Regions from separate parts of the Homo sapiens genome. Here regions 1 and 2 are each linked to region 3. Evidence: promoter capture Hi-C in 16 types of primary human blood cells and fetal thymus (Javierre and others, 2016). All regions are on one chromosome and are shown on one strand. Each heading gives the region's core, a stretch centred on a gene start or on the middle of the fragment in contact. The rest is flanking DNA. Distances are from core to core; before and after follow the strand shown.

The links. Contacts are between HindIII fragments. The CHiCAGO score rates a contact against its expected background, and 5 or more counts as called.
Region 1: a fragment that was not itself captured here is called in contact with the fragment with the promoter of ZNF684 in region 3 in 2 of 17 cell types (endothelial precursors and M2 macrophages); the score reaches 5.1 in endothelial precursors.
Region 2: a fragment that was not itself captured here is called in contact with the fragment with the promoter of ZNF684 in region 3 in 1 of 17 cell types (megakaryocytes); the score reaches 5.0 in megakaryocytes.

Annotation. Positions count from the first base shown.
Region 1 is chr1:40,667,716-40,671,387 of GRCh38, forward strand. It overlaps a transcript of RIMS3 not described here. Among named protein-coding and RNA genes, the nearest start is that of RIMS3, 3.9 kb to the left of the region's middle. RefSeq lists enhancers at 1,196-1,345, 1,406-1,455. The HindIII fragment of the contact is 588 bases long and covers 2,067-2,654 here.
Region 2 is chr1:40,764,893-40,768,746 of GRCh38, forward strand. It overlaps NFYC (nuclear transcription factor Y subunit gamma), which reads left to right. Exons shown (of 10, transcript NM_014223.5): 8 at 1,704-1,811. Among named protein-coding and RNA genes, the nearest start is that of MIR30C1, 9.5 kb to the left of the region's middle. The HindIII fragment of the contact is 574 bases long and covers 2,198-2,771 here.
Region 3 is chr1:40,529,203-40,532,897 of GRCh38, forward strand. ZNF684 (zinc finger protein 684) reads left to right here and starts at 2,435. Exons shown (of 5, transcript NM_152373.4): 1 at 2,435-2,585. It overlaps LOC124904149 (a long non-coding RNA gene), which reads right to left and starts at 2,344. Exons shown (of 2, transcript XR_007066022.1): 1 at 2,286-2,344; 2 at 1,376-2,153. RefSeq lists an enhancer at 2,235-2,529. The HindIII fragment of the contact is 2,309 bases long and covers 1,289-3,597 here.

The DNA.
Region 1 (3,672 bases), core at 1,111-3,610, 140 kb after region 3:
ACTATAAAGTCAATGTATTTAAAGCAGTATGGTATTGAAGCAGGACTAGACCGATCTGTGGAACAAAATGGAGTATGGAAATGGATCCAGCCCCACAAGGGAATTCAATGTATGATAAAGATAGCACTTCAGGCCCGGCACAGTGGCTCATGCCAGTAATCCCAAAACTTTGGGAGGTTGAGGCGGGCAGATCACTTGAGACTAGCCTGGGCAACATGGCAAAACTTTGTCTCTATAAAAAAATACAAAACTTGTGGCCGGGGGCGGTGGCTCACACCTGTAATCCCAGCACTTTGGGAGGCCGAGGCAGGCGGATCACAAGATCAAGAGATTGAGACCATCCTAGCCAACATGGTGAAACCCTGTCTCAACTAAAAATACAAAAATTAGCTGGGTGTGGTGGCATGCACCTGTAGTCCCAACTACTTGGGAGACTGAGGCAGGAGAATCGCTTGAACCCAGGAGGCGGAGGTTGCAGTGAACTGAGATCGCACCACTGCACTCCAGCCTGGTAACAGAGCAAGACTCTGTCTCAAAAAAAAAAAAAAAAAAAAAATTTATCTGGGCATGATTGCACACACCTGTAGTCCCAGCTACCAGGGAGGCTGAAGTGGGAGGATTACCTGAGCCTGGGAGGTCAAGGCTGCAGTGAGCTGTGATCACGCCACTGCACTCCAGCCTGGGCAACAGAGCAAGACCTTGTCTCTAAATGAATGAATGAATAAAAGACAGCACTTCAGACAAATGGGGGGCGGAGTTGGTAGGGGGTTGTGGGCGGGGGGGGGGGGGTTGGTGGCGGAGATCAAATGGGTGGAATAACCAGCAAGTCTTTTGGGGAAATTACAAAAAGCTGTGCCCTTATTCGACACTGAAATAAATTCCAGGTGGACCACATATTTAACACCATAATGTATCAGAAAAAAGACATGAGTGAATATTTTAATAATCTTGGAGATGGAAAAGACTTTCTAAGCATGATGAAACCTAGAAGCCATAAGAGAAAACATGGAAATGTTTGACTACAAGGCTTCTATACAGAAGAAATGGCCATAAGTCAGTTTGAAAGACAAATGACAAAACGGAGGGGATATATCCTGGTTGCCCCCTACCCTGTCCCCTCCTGCCCGCCAGCCCCTCCAAGCCGAGACGGGGACGAGCAGGAGGGATGGCTGGGGCTGTGAGAGTCGAGACCGAGCACCTGGCAGAGGCTTCTCCTGCGGCGCTCTGGCCAGCGCCCACATGTTTAGGGGCCGGGAAGTCCCGGAAACCCCAGGCGGGCCATCTGGGTCCTCAGCAGGTGCCTTGGCACAGCCGAGCCGAAGTCCTCCTGGAGGCTGCTCACCACTTCCCTCGCGTGGCCATCCTAAGAACTGCAATCCTCTGTTCCTGCTCAGCCCCTTCTGAGCATCAAGGCGAGAATTTAAAAATAAATAAATAACAGCTAATTTTTTGAGGGAACTAACCATGTTCCAGGCATTGTGTTAAACACTTAACCTAGCATATTTCATTTTCCCCTCAAAACAGCTCTTCGAGGTAGGTGCACTGTATTCTTATCTCCATTTGATGGACGGAAACTGAGGCTTGAAAAAAGTGACTTGTCTTTCTAAGTGGTGGCACCAGAATTTACTGCCACATTCCTGGCCTCAGCTCTTAATGTAATAAAGCCAAACCTTTGGGAAAATTCAATAAAACAAACTTTTTTGAGGTTTACCTTTATCCAGGCCTTTTGCAGGTGCTGGGGATTCTGAATTGAGGAAAATAGTCATCAGAGGTGACAGCAGAGGAACACTCCTGATACAGCGAATCCTGATGGCTACAGAGGACTCATTCACCCCAGGAAGCGGTGGGGGCAGTGGGGAGGGATCCCAGAGGAGACGTCCTCCAAGCTGCATCTTGTGGAGAGAGAGTAGTGGGGTGGCACTTACTAAGGTGGGCTGGATGACAAGTGGGGCTTGGGGGAGGAGCAGTGATCTATATGCTCTGAGTTTGGGGGTAGACCACAGATGGGGCTGAATAAAGTACACCAGGACCAAGCTAAGGAGTTTGGGTGCAAAGATTTTTTTGAAAGCTTTTCCATGTTTCAGTTGCTTGGGTCTAGGGACAGCCTGCTCTGCCAACCCAACCTGCCTCCTTTGCAGATGCTTTCTCACCCCAGTTCAAGGTGCTCTCAGAAACTTGGGAGTCCCTCCTGATTCCTTCCTCTTCCTCACTTCTATCCACTTAATTATCAGAGCCATCCAGTTTGCTTCCTAAATACTTCCTAGGTTCACCCACTTCTCTCCATCCCTCTTGCCTCTCCTCTAGTCCAGCCTGCCTTCCTGTCACTCCTGAATTCAGCTGCTGTTGGTGACTTGGTCTCACCACCTTCAAACTTTTACACAAGAGAAATCCTTCTAAAACAAATCTGACCACATCCCCTCTCTTACTGAAAATGCTTTTCATTGATTCATTCAACAAATATCAAGTATTTATTATATGTTGAATATTCAAGATATAATTATGAGCAAAACATGGAATTTAAAGCCTATGGGGGTGACAGACATGAACCAAATCACCCCCTAAATAATTGTATAATAAAAACTGGGTTAGATGCTATGGGAGGGACTGGCCTAGACAGGGAGATCTTTGAATGCTCCCCAAGGCATCCCATCTGAAGCTTGAATAGCAGTCAGCCAGATCAACAAGCCAAGGATGGGTAAGAGCTTACACAAAGGCCCTGAAGTTGCTTCTCTGAGTTTCTGTTTCCTTGTCTGTATAATGGGAATATTTAGAGTTATGAGGATTAAATGAGTTAATATGTGTAAAGTTCTTAGAACAGACCTTAGGATATAAATTTTCCATAAGTGTTAGTTATAATTTTATATATATATATATATATATATATATATATATATTTGAGATGGAGTCTCACTCTGTTACCCAGGAGGCAGTGGCGTGATCTCTGCTCACTGCAATCTCCGCCTCCCAGGTTGAAGCAATTCTTCTGCCTCAGCCTCCTGGGTAGCTGGGATTACAGGCATGTGCCACTACGCCTGGCTAATTTTTGTGTTTTTTGTAGAGATGGGGTTTCACCATATTGGCCAGGCTAGTCTTGAATCCTGATCCACCCACCTCAGCCTCCCAAAGTGCTGGGATTACAGGAGTGAGCCACTGCGCCTGGCCAATAACTTAATAATATATATTTTTTTAAGTGGAGAGATATTGGAAATCTTTCAGCAAAGGAGTTAAAGGAGAAAGTAGCATTTTTTAAATGTCACTCCAGCTGCAATGAGGAGCATGGATTAGTACAAAGAAAGAGCAGATTTGGGGAAACTAATGAGACTTTTGCAGGGGTCCATTGAGAGCTATGGGGATTTGGGCTAGGGAGGCAGAGGGAAATTGGAGAGATTTTGTGGTTTAGGTAGTAGACACTGCTGGACTTGCTGTTTTATTGGTAGTGGGAGGCTGTAGGAGGTAGGTGGTCCCTACAACTGGTTGGGTGGTGATGTTCTTCACCAAGACAGGGAAGCCTGAATGATGCCTAGGCCTTGGGGGGGATGCTGATTCTGGATGTGTTTAGATGCACACACTGTGGGACATCCCAGATGAGGGCTGCATAGGCAGCTGATTCACTGTGGAGTTCAGAAGAGAAACTGTGGCTGGAGATACAAAACTAAGATTGTTGGTGATATG
Region 2 (3,854 bases), core at 1,235-3,734, 240 kb after region 3:
GCTTGGAACCATTTGGCTCACAGCTTTTCAGTCACATTTGGGTTTCTGCAAAGAGCTCTTCCCAGCTAGAAAATTTTAACATCCCTGTAGCTGTCAGTATACCTTCTCCCACTCCTGGGACAAGGCTTTAGTTTTTCATCTTGTGATCCCTGGCTGGAGTTCTGGGGACTCCTGGAACTAGCCACCATCAGTCTCTGTAGATGAGGTTTTCCAAACTTCTGCCCAGCTGCCTTCCTCCCCACAAGCAACTTAACATTGTTGCCAGGAAGCTGCATTATAGGATTTAGGTGGGGAATTCAGGCTTGGCACCACAGCCTCCCAGCAGCTTCTCTTGGCATATTCTCAGGAAAGAAATGACTGCAGGTCCTAATACTCTTGCCCTGTCTCCTTTGAACCAGATTTTTAATGGGTTTAGATTGGGTGTCCCTCCATCTTGCCTCAAGTGGGCAATTCTGGAATGGTCTACCGTGAACTTGAGAGGTCGTTTTTTCTCGGTAGTTCAAATTCTGTGAGGCTGGAAGTCTCAGAGAAGCATTTTGATTGAACACTGCGTGCAGGAATGCAGCTTCATCCCATTAGCATTTTCCTCATGGAAGAGTCCTGCAGTGAAGTTAGCTCTTGAAGGCCAGAGGGAAATTTGCTCCAGAGCAGAGGCAATACTTGCCTGTTAGCCACAAGAAGCTTCCCCTTGCAACAAAGGCAGGCTGGGCAGCCAGGGCAGGTGGTTTCTGGACCCCGCAGATAGAGACCTAGTCTATCCATGCTCCCAGAACCCCTTTCATTTCCTCTAAATTGAGGGTGTGAATGTCTGCAGTCCTCCTCTGCTGACCATCATCTTTGCTGAGCTACAGTTCTCTGATGTGGTAACCGCCTTGGTCCTCTTTTCATCCCCAGCTCAAAACACTAATACTTTCATGGTACACTGGAGCATTAAGAGCCTGAGTTAAGGCTTTTAGCACACAATTAAATGCAGCATGTGGTATTATTGTATTATCTGAGATTTAATCGTAAGCATGAGAGACTCTAAGGGCGCTTTCGTAGCTTTGGTTTCCCATGATGGGGTTTTCTATGAAAGGTTTATTGATTCTGCTTCCCCTTGGGAGGTGTTTGGCCAGAAGCTAGTGCTGAACACCAAAGATCCTAAAAGCCCCACAGACCCCCATCCAGCCTGGCTCTTGGGGACAGAGATGGTTAAGCAGTCCAGCTTTTGCCTCCAAAATGTGCAGCATGGGGCAGGGCAGTGTGAGGGCTATGATGCGGAATGATGGCTGTTTGCTTTGGGATCCTGGCAGATGCTGGATCTCTTTACAGATGGGAGCGAAAGAGGCCCACACTTAATGTACAGGCATTCTGATGATGTCAGTCAGATAAATTCCTAAGATAAGCTGTGATCATGTAGCTAAGAGCTGGCAAATAATGAGCATGCAGCCATGCTGTTCTCACCTTTGTGACAGGATCTTCTGGGAGTTTTTTCTGAAGTCCATTCAGGGAATATATTCTCTTCTGTGCTGTGTGACTTGTGGGATGTGGATGTTCTGATTTTGCTTGTTTTGACCTCTGTTTAAAAGGGACTTTTTTCAGGGCAGGCTTCTTTGGAGGGCTTGAGGGGTAGGGGGCAATCAACATCTCTGGTCATGGAAAGTTTGCCTGTTTGAGATTATACTCAATGTCTTATGGTCTCTTTGTCTCTGCCCCTGCCCTAGGTGCAGCTGAATGCCGGCCAGCTGCAGTATATCCGCTTAGCCCAGCCTGTATCAGGCACTCAAGTTGTGCAGGGACAGATCCAGACACTTGCCACCAATGCTCAACAGGTATGTGCCCCAGAGACACAAGGCCTGTGTTGGAGACCAGGAGCAGATGGCTTCTGACAGGAAAGGAGCGCTCAGCACACAGCTGTCTTGCCACCTCATCCTTCAACCAGAAGCACCACCCCCACACCCTCCATATCCTTCTGCACCCAAGAGGCATGGGTGGTAATTGGAACATTAGATTCAAAGTGTTTTCTCTTACCATCTTGTTCTCAAGGGGCAAAGAAATGCAAGTCAGGGGAAGCCTCGAAGGTGCCTGAAAGAAACCTTACAGGTGTGCACACCCATCAGACCTGGGAAATGTTCGACAGATCGCCTGATCGTCAGGCTGTTTCCATCTTTAAACCCAAGTGGCTGTTGTGTTCTGGCACCTCCTGTGCTCTTTGGAAAGCTTACTTAGATTTTACCCCTACCTCCTCTTGCATCCCTAACCAGAAAAATTGCCCTTCTCCTCTCCTCTCGTGCCCTACAATATTGATGGCTATGAGTCACAGATGGTGAGGGGGCTGCCTCCCTGGGCTTGGGGGTGTTGAGGGACATGGGTATTACTTGCAGAAGATGGGGGGTGCTGGTCAAGGGGAGGCATTGTTAATGGATTCTTTTGCCTCAGACCCAAAAAAAGCAGCGATCGTTTAAGAGCTGGACCCGTCTGGCCCAGTTGCATTTCTGGTGATGTATCTATTGACAGTGGTGACAGAGCTGAGTTTGTAGAGCAGGTCTCCAAAGATCTCATTTGGGAAAATACGAGGAATGAGCCAAAAGCAAGGCTTCTGAGTTCCATATAGTCTCTGGGATCATTAAGGGCTGTTTCTGTGCCCACTCCCCGGCTTACCTAAGGACGCGGCTTTTCCGTAGCTGATACTGACTCACACCCTTCCCCCAGCCCCTCTTTTTAACCTCATAAGATTCTTCCCTGGGATCCAAAAAACATAACGGCATGGGAGTGGGAGGAAATGAGAAGGAAGCTTCTTGGTTCCTCAGAAGTCAGTTTGGGGCTGGGCACAGTGGGTCACGCCTGTAATCCCAGCACTTTGGGAGGGAGGCTGAGGCAGGTGATCACATGAGGTCGGGAGTTTGAGACCAGCCTGGCCAACATGGCAAAACCGTTTCCACTAAAAATACAAAATTAGCTGGGCGTGGTGGTGCATGCCTGTCATCCCAGCTACTTGGGAGGCTGAGACACAAGAATCACTTGAACCCAGGAGGTGGAGGTTGCAGTGAGCTGAGATTGTGCCACTGCACTCCAGCCTGGGCGACAGAGTGAGACTCTGTCTCAAAAAATAAAAATTAAAAAAAGTCCGTTTTGGGAACAGAACTAAAGCCAAAAAATGGGAGAGGCTGGGGAGAAGCAAGAAAGTGGTAGCTGAAGGCAATGAAAATCTTTGTAACAACAGGTTGTAATTATGACAACCTAATACTTAGTAGGTGCTCAGTAAATGTTTGTTGAATGAAGCTGAATGAATAATATGTAAATAAAATGTAAAGGTAAATGAAATCTCAGCTAATATGAATGGCAATCCTGCTGGCCACAGAGCAGTTAACCTTCTTATCTATGTGGAATATTTTCCATTTGTCTCAGGCTCACTTGTTTATTCTGCAACATTTCTGGAATACTAACTTTGTATGGGCTCCTGCCCTCAGGCATCTTATAGGCTGTTGGAAGGAAAAGGACCAAAATAAGGAACAATAGTAAAAAATAGTCATGAAGCCTGTCATACCTGTTCCCTTTCTTGTTCCTCATAGCCTCATGGGTAGGCCTGCAGGGGTTGTTTTTGGCCATGGTGAGGACATTTGAGAGGACAGTCCTTGTCTTGCAGGCTGGCTGTGATGATTCCAGGAAATGGTACACAGAGGACACTGCTGGCCAAATGTTCCATAGGAACACATGTGCATGCACACCGCAGTCTTCTTTCTAGTTTACCGAGCTGCTCCCAGCAGTTGTCATTATATATGCAGTTCTACATGTCAGTACATTTATCTAAAATCCATTCACAGTCCACACATAAGATTTTAAGTACTTGTGATAAATGTTGTCTTTGTTCCACT
Region 3 (3,695 bases), core at 1,185-3,684:
GGATTTGCTTCAAAATACTATGCAATGGGGTTGGGGGTAGAGATGAAACAGAATTGGCCCTGAGTTGATAATTATTGGAGTTGGGGGATGGATACATGGAAGTTCACCACTATTCTTTCTACTATTGCATAGTTTAAAATTACCATAATGAAATGTTTTGTAAAATTAAATGCCTAATTTTTGGGTTGCACAAAATACATACTGTTTCTAATAAAAATACATAAGTAATTTGGTCCAAAATACTTTAGATATTAAGATGTAATGAATTTATTCTACTACCCATGTCTTTAATATATGTCCTTTCTGTTGAGAGAGAGGAGAGGAGAGGGGAGGGGAGGGGACGGGAGGGGAGGCAGAGAGAGAGAGATGTGTTTATTGCATAGAAAATGCTAGTAAAGTCAGTGGGTACTAATATCACTTGATCTTAGCCAAAAGGCTGAGAAGCGATAATGGCTACTAATATCAAGCCAGTTCTTAATGGTGCCAGGCAATAGTACTACATTTCCTTAATCTATTCACTTGCTCACATTCATAAATCATACTTTATCGAATCTCAGATGCCATTGATTATAAGTTGTATTATTATTTTATATACTAATAAAAAACAATGCTCCTGATTAAACTATGGAATGCCATCACTTGTAAGACAGCAATTTCACAGATGTTAAAATATGAAAAAATCATGTTTCAAAATCATCATAATACGGTATTCATCTTTTCTGTCAAGTCTAAAATACTTTCCCCCTATCTTCATTTCAGCTTCCTATTTCACTGGGAAAATAGAAGCACTCAGAACAGGGCATCCTCTTTCTCCTACCACCATATTTGTCCACCTGTTTGGATCTGTACTTATAAACTCTGCCTCCCCTTTTATTTCAATGGAGATGAATTATCCATACTCTTACTTAGAATGATCCCTGTGATTGTGTACTGGATTCCATCCCTTCTCTTCTCAAGGACATTCCTCCGAGTAACTAGCCTGTCTATCCTGAATTGTGTATTTCCCGCCTCTACTGGATCTTTTGTTTTATTTTATTAACTAATTCATTTATTTGAGACAGAGCCTCGCTCTGTCGCCCAGGCTGGAGTGCAGTGGTGTGATCTCGGCTCACTGCAACCTCTGCCTCCCGGGTTCAAGTGATTCTCCCGCCTCAGCCTCCCAGGTAGCTGGGTTTACAGGCGTCTGCCACCACGCCCGGCTAATTTTTGTATTTTTAGTAGAGACGGGGTTTCACCACGTTGGCCAGGCTGGTCTCCAACTCCTGACCTCAGGTGATCTGCCCACCTAAGCTTCCCAAAGTGCTGGGATTACAGGCGTGAGCCACTGCGCCCAGCCTAGATCCTTTTAATTAGTACATAAACTTACTATAATTTCTTCCATCTTTTTTATTTTATTTTTTTGAGACAGAGACTAGCTCTGTCGCCCATGCTGCAGTGCAGTGGCGGGATCACGGCTCACTGCAGTCTCTACTGTCTGGGCTCAAGCGATCCTCCCATCTCAGCCTCTCAAGTAGTTGGGACTTCAGGCGGGTGCCATGCCAGGCTAGTTTTTTATTTTTTGTAGAGATGAGGGTCTCACTATGTTGCCTAGGCAGTTTCAGACTCCTGGGCTCAACCAATCCTCCCACTTTGGCCTCCTGAAATGTTAGGATTACAGGCATAAGCCACCACACTCAGCCCCATCTTTGAATTAAAAAAAAAAAAAAAATTAGAACGTGGAAAAACGCAACAACAAAAGATTAACAAAATCCCTATCCCATGATAGCCTTATTTTTCTGCTCACCTTAAAAACAAAACTTCTTAAAAGTATTGCGTATATTTGCTTTCTCCATTTCCTCTCCTCCCATCCTTCCCTCCAACTCCTATCAAATTTTCATCAGACTTTATCAAACTTCCACCACTGCCAAAATGGCGTTTCAACATCACTGGTGACCATTGCTACAGTGGCCCATTCTTAATTCTCATTTTACTTGACCTATGAGCAACATTTGAGACAATGGGTCACTCCCTTCTTGAAACACTTCCTTCCCTTGGTTTTGCAGATCTAAACTCTCCTACTTTTCCATCTACTTCATGGATTATTCCTTCTCAGTCTTCTTTGTTGGATCCTCTTCACCTCTCCGACTTAACCTGGTGCATTGCTAGAAGAAACCCTGCTGAGTAAGAGCAAATTGTTTTTAGCATACCGCCGATTTTACTTTCCAGTATTTAAAAATGCTGTGTATCCTTTTAAATGAAAACGACTTAAAAAGCGTGGCTCTCAGGCTAGCAATAGAGATACCAACCCGGGAATCTCCGCACCACCCCCCAAGAGGAAGCAGCGTCTGACGTCTTCCGGAAACGAGCTCCACTGGCCTTATGGGAAATGTGGTCTCCGACGGATGGCCTACACCCGGGAGGAGTCCAGGAACTCTAGGTGGACAGTTACTTCCGCACACGCGTAGTAGGACGGTAGCCGGTATTCAATCTTCAAATCAGCGCCGCGGGAAGTGCGGGCGGGTGTTGCTCCCCTGTCTCTGGACGACGCTGTGACTGATCCCAGGCTTGGAGCCGGAGCTGCGAGCGAGGCAGTGAAAGGGTGGCAGGTATGGCTTTGCTGGACTCGGAGGACGTAAGAGAAAGGCGGGGACTGGCTTCTAGGTTTACCCTACCGAAGATAAAACTTTAGTCTCCAAGCGCAGTGACTTCAGGTTTGGATATGTGGGTCCTGTTCAACTCGAGTAGCTGAGAGAAAGCAAGAGTTGGGCTCCGACTGGCACTGGGTAGATGTCCAGGGCTCTGGTGGGACTGGGAGAGGCTCAATTTGCATTCCTGCTCTTGTAGGTCAAGGTCACTATGTAGGAGTCTGTTCATCTAACTGTACCTTTCCTGGTTCCAAGAGCATAGTTGGCCCGACTGGAGCCTGCGACAATTTTAAGCCGTGTCAAGGGATCCAGTGGAAACTGTAAGCTATTTCAAGGGATCCAGGAAGAAAGCATTCTTGAGAAACTGCTATGGATTAGAAGGGTATTCTCAGCAATCATTTGAAGTAAATGCTATTACCATTTTGCATATGAGTTAACTGAAGCTGAAAGGTGAAATTACTTGCCTGGACTCACACAGCTTAGTAAGTGGAAGAACTGAGATTCAAACTCAGATACATTTTCTCCAAATTTCTTTTTTTTTTTTTTTACAGTATAGCATTCCTGCATAAAACAGAGTTGGGTTTATTCTCCTGAAATGTTTGAGCAATGAATGCTGAGTAAATTTCGATTTGTAGTCATTTTGTAGAGTCTCTTGGTGTATCTGCAGATCTTCCAGTGCAGACTGTGTAAATGAAGATGTGAGTCCCCGGTTTGCCCATTATACCCTTTCTAGAGCCCCAGCAGTTCTAAGCTCATAGGAGATGGCGAGTTTCTACAGAGAGAAACATTTGGAGTTTAAACTGAAGGATCCAGCTTAACAAAAAAAAAATAAAAAAAAGTGTTCCTGGGTCCCTGAATCCAGCCTTCTCAAGAAAGCCCAACCTAATTTGCAATCTCTTATCCCAGCGTCAGAGTAGAAACCAGAGAATCACAGGAAGGAATCATTTTTAGACTTACGGAGCTTCAGAGACCAAGCTTTTAAGTGAGTCAACTCATTCATTATTTCTTCAGGATAAATTTCTGGGAGGAAAAAAAATAACTGTTTCAAGAGGAACCACTTGGTGCTAGATC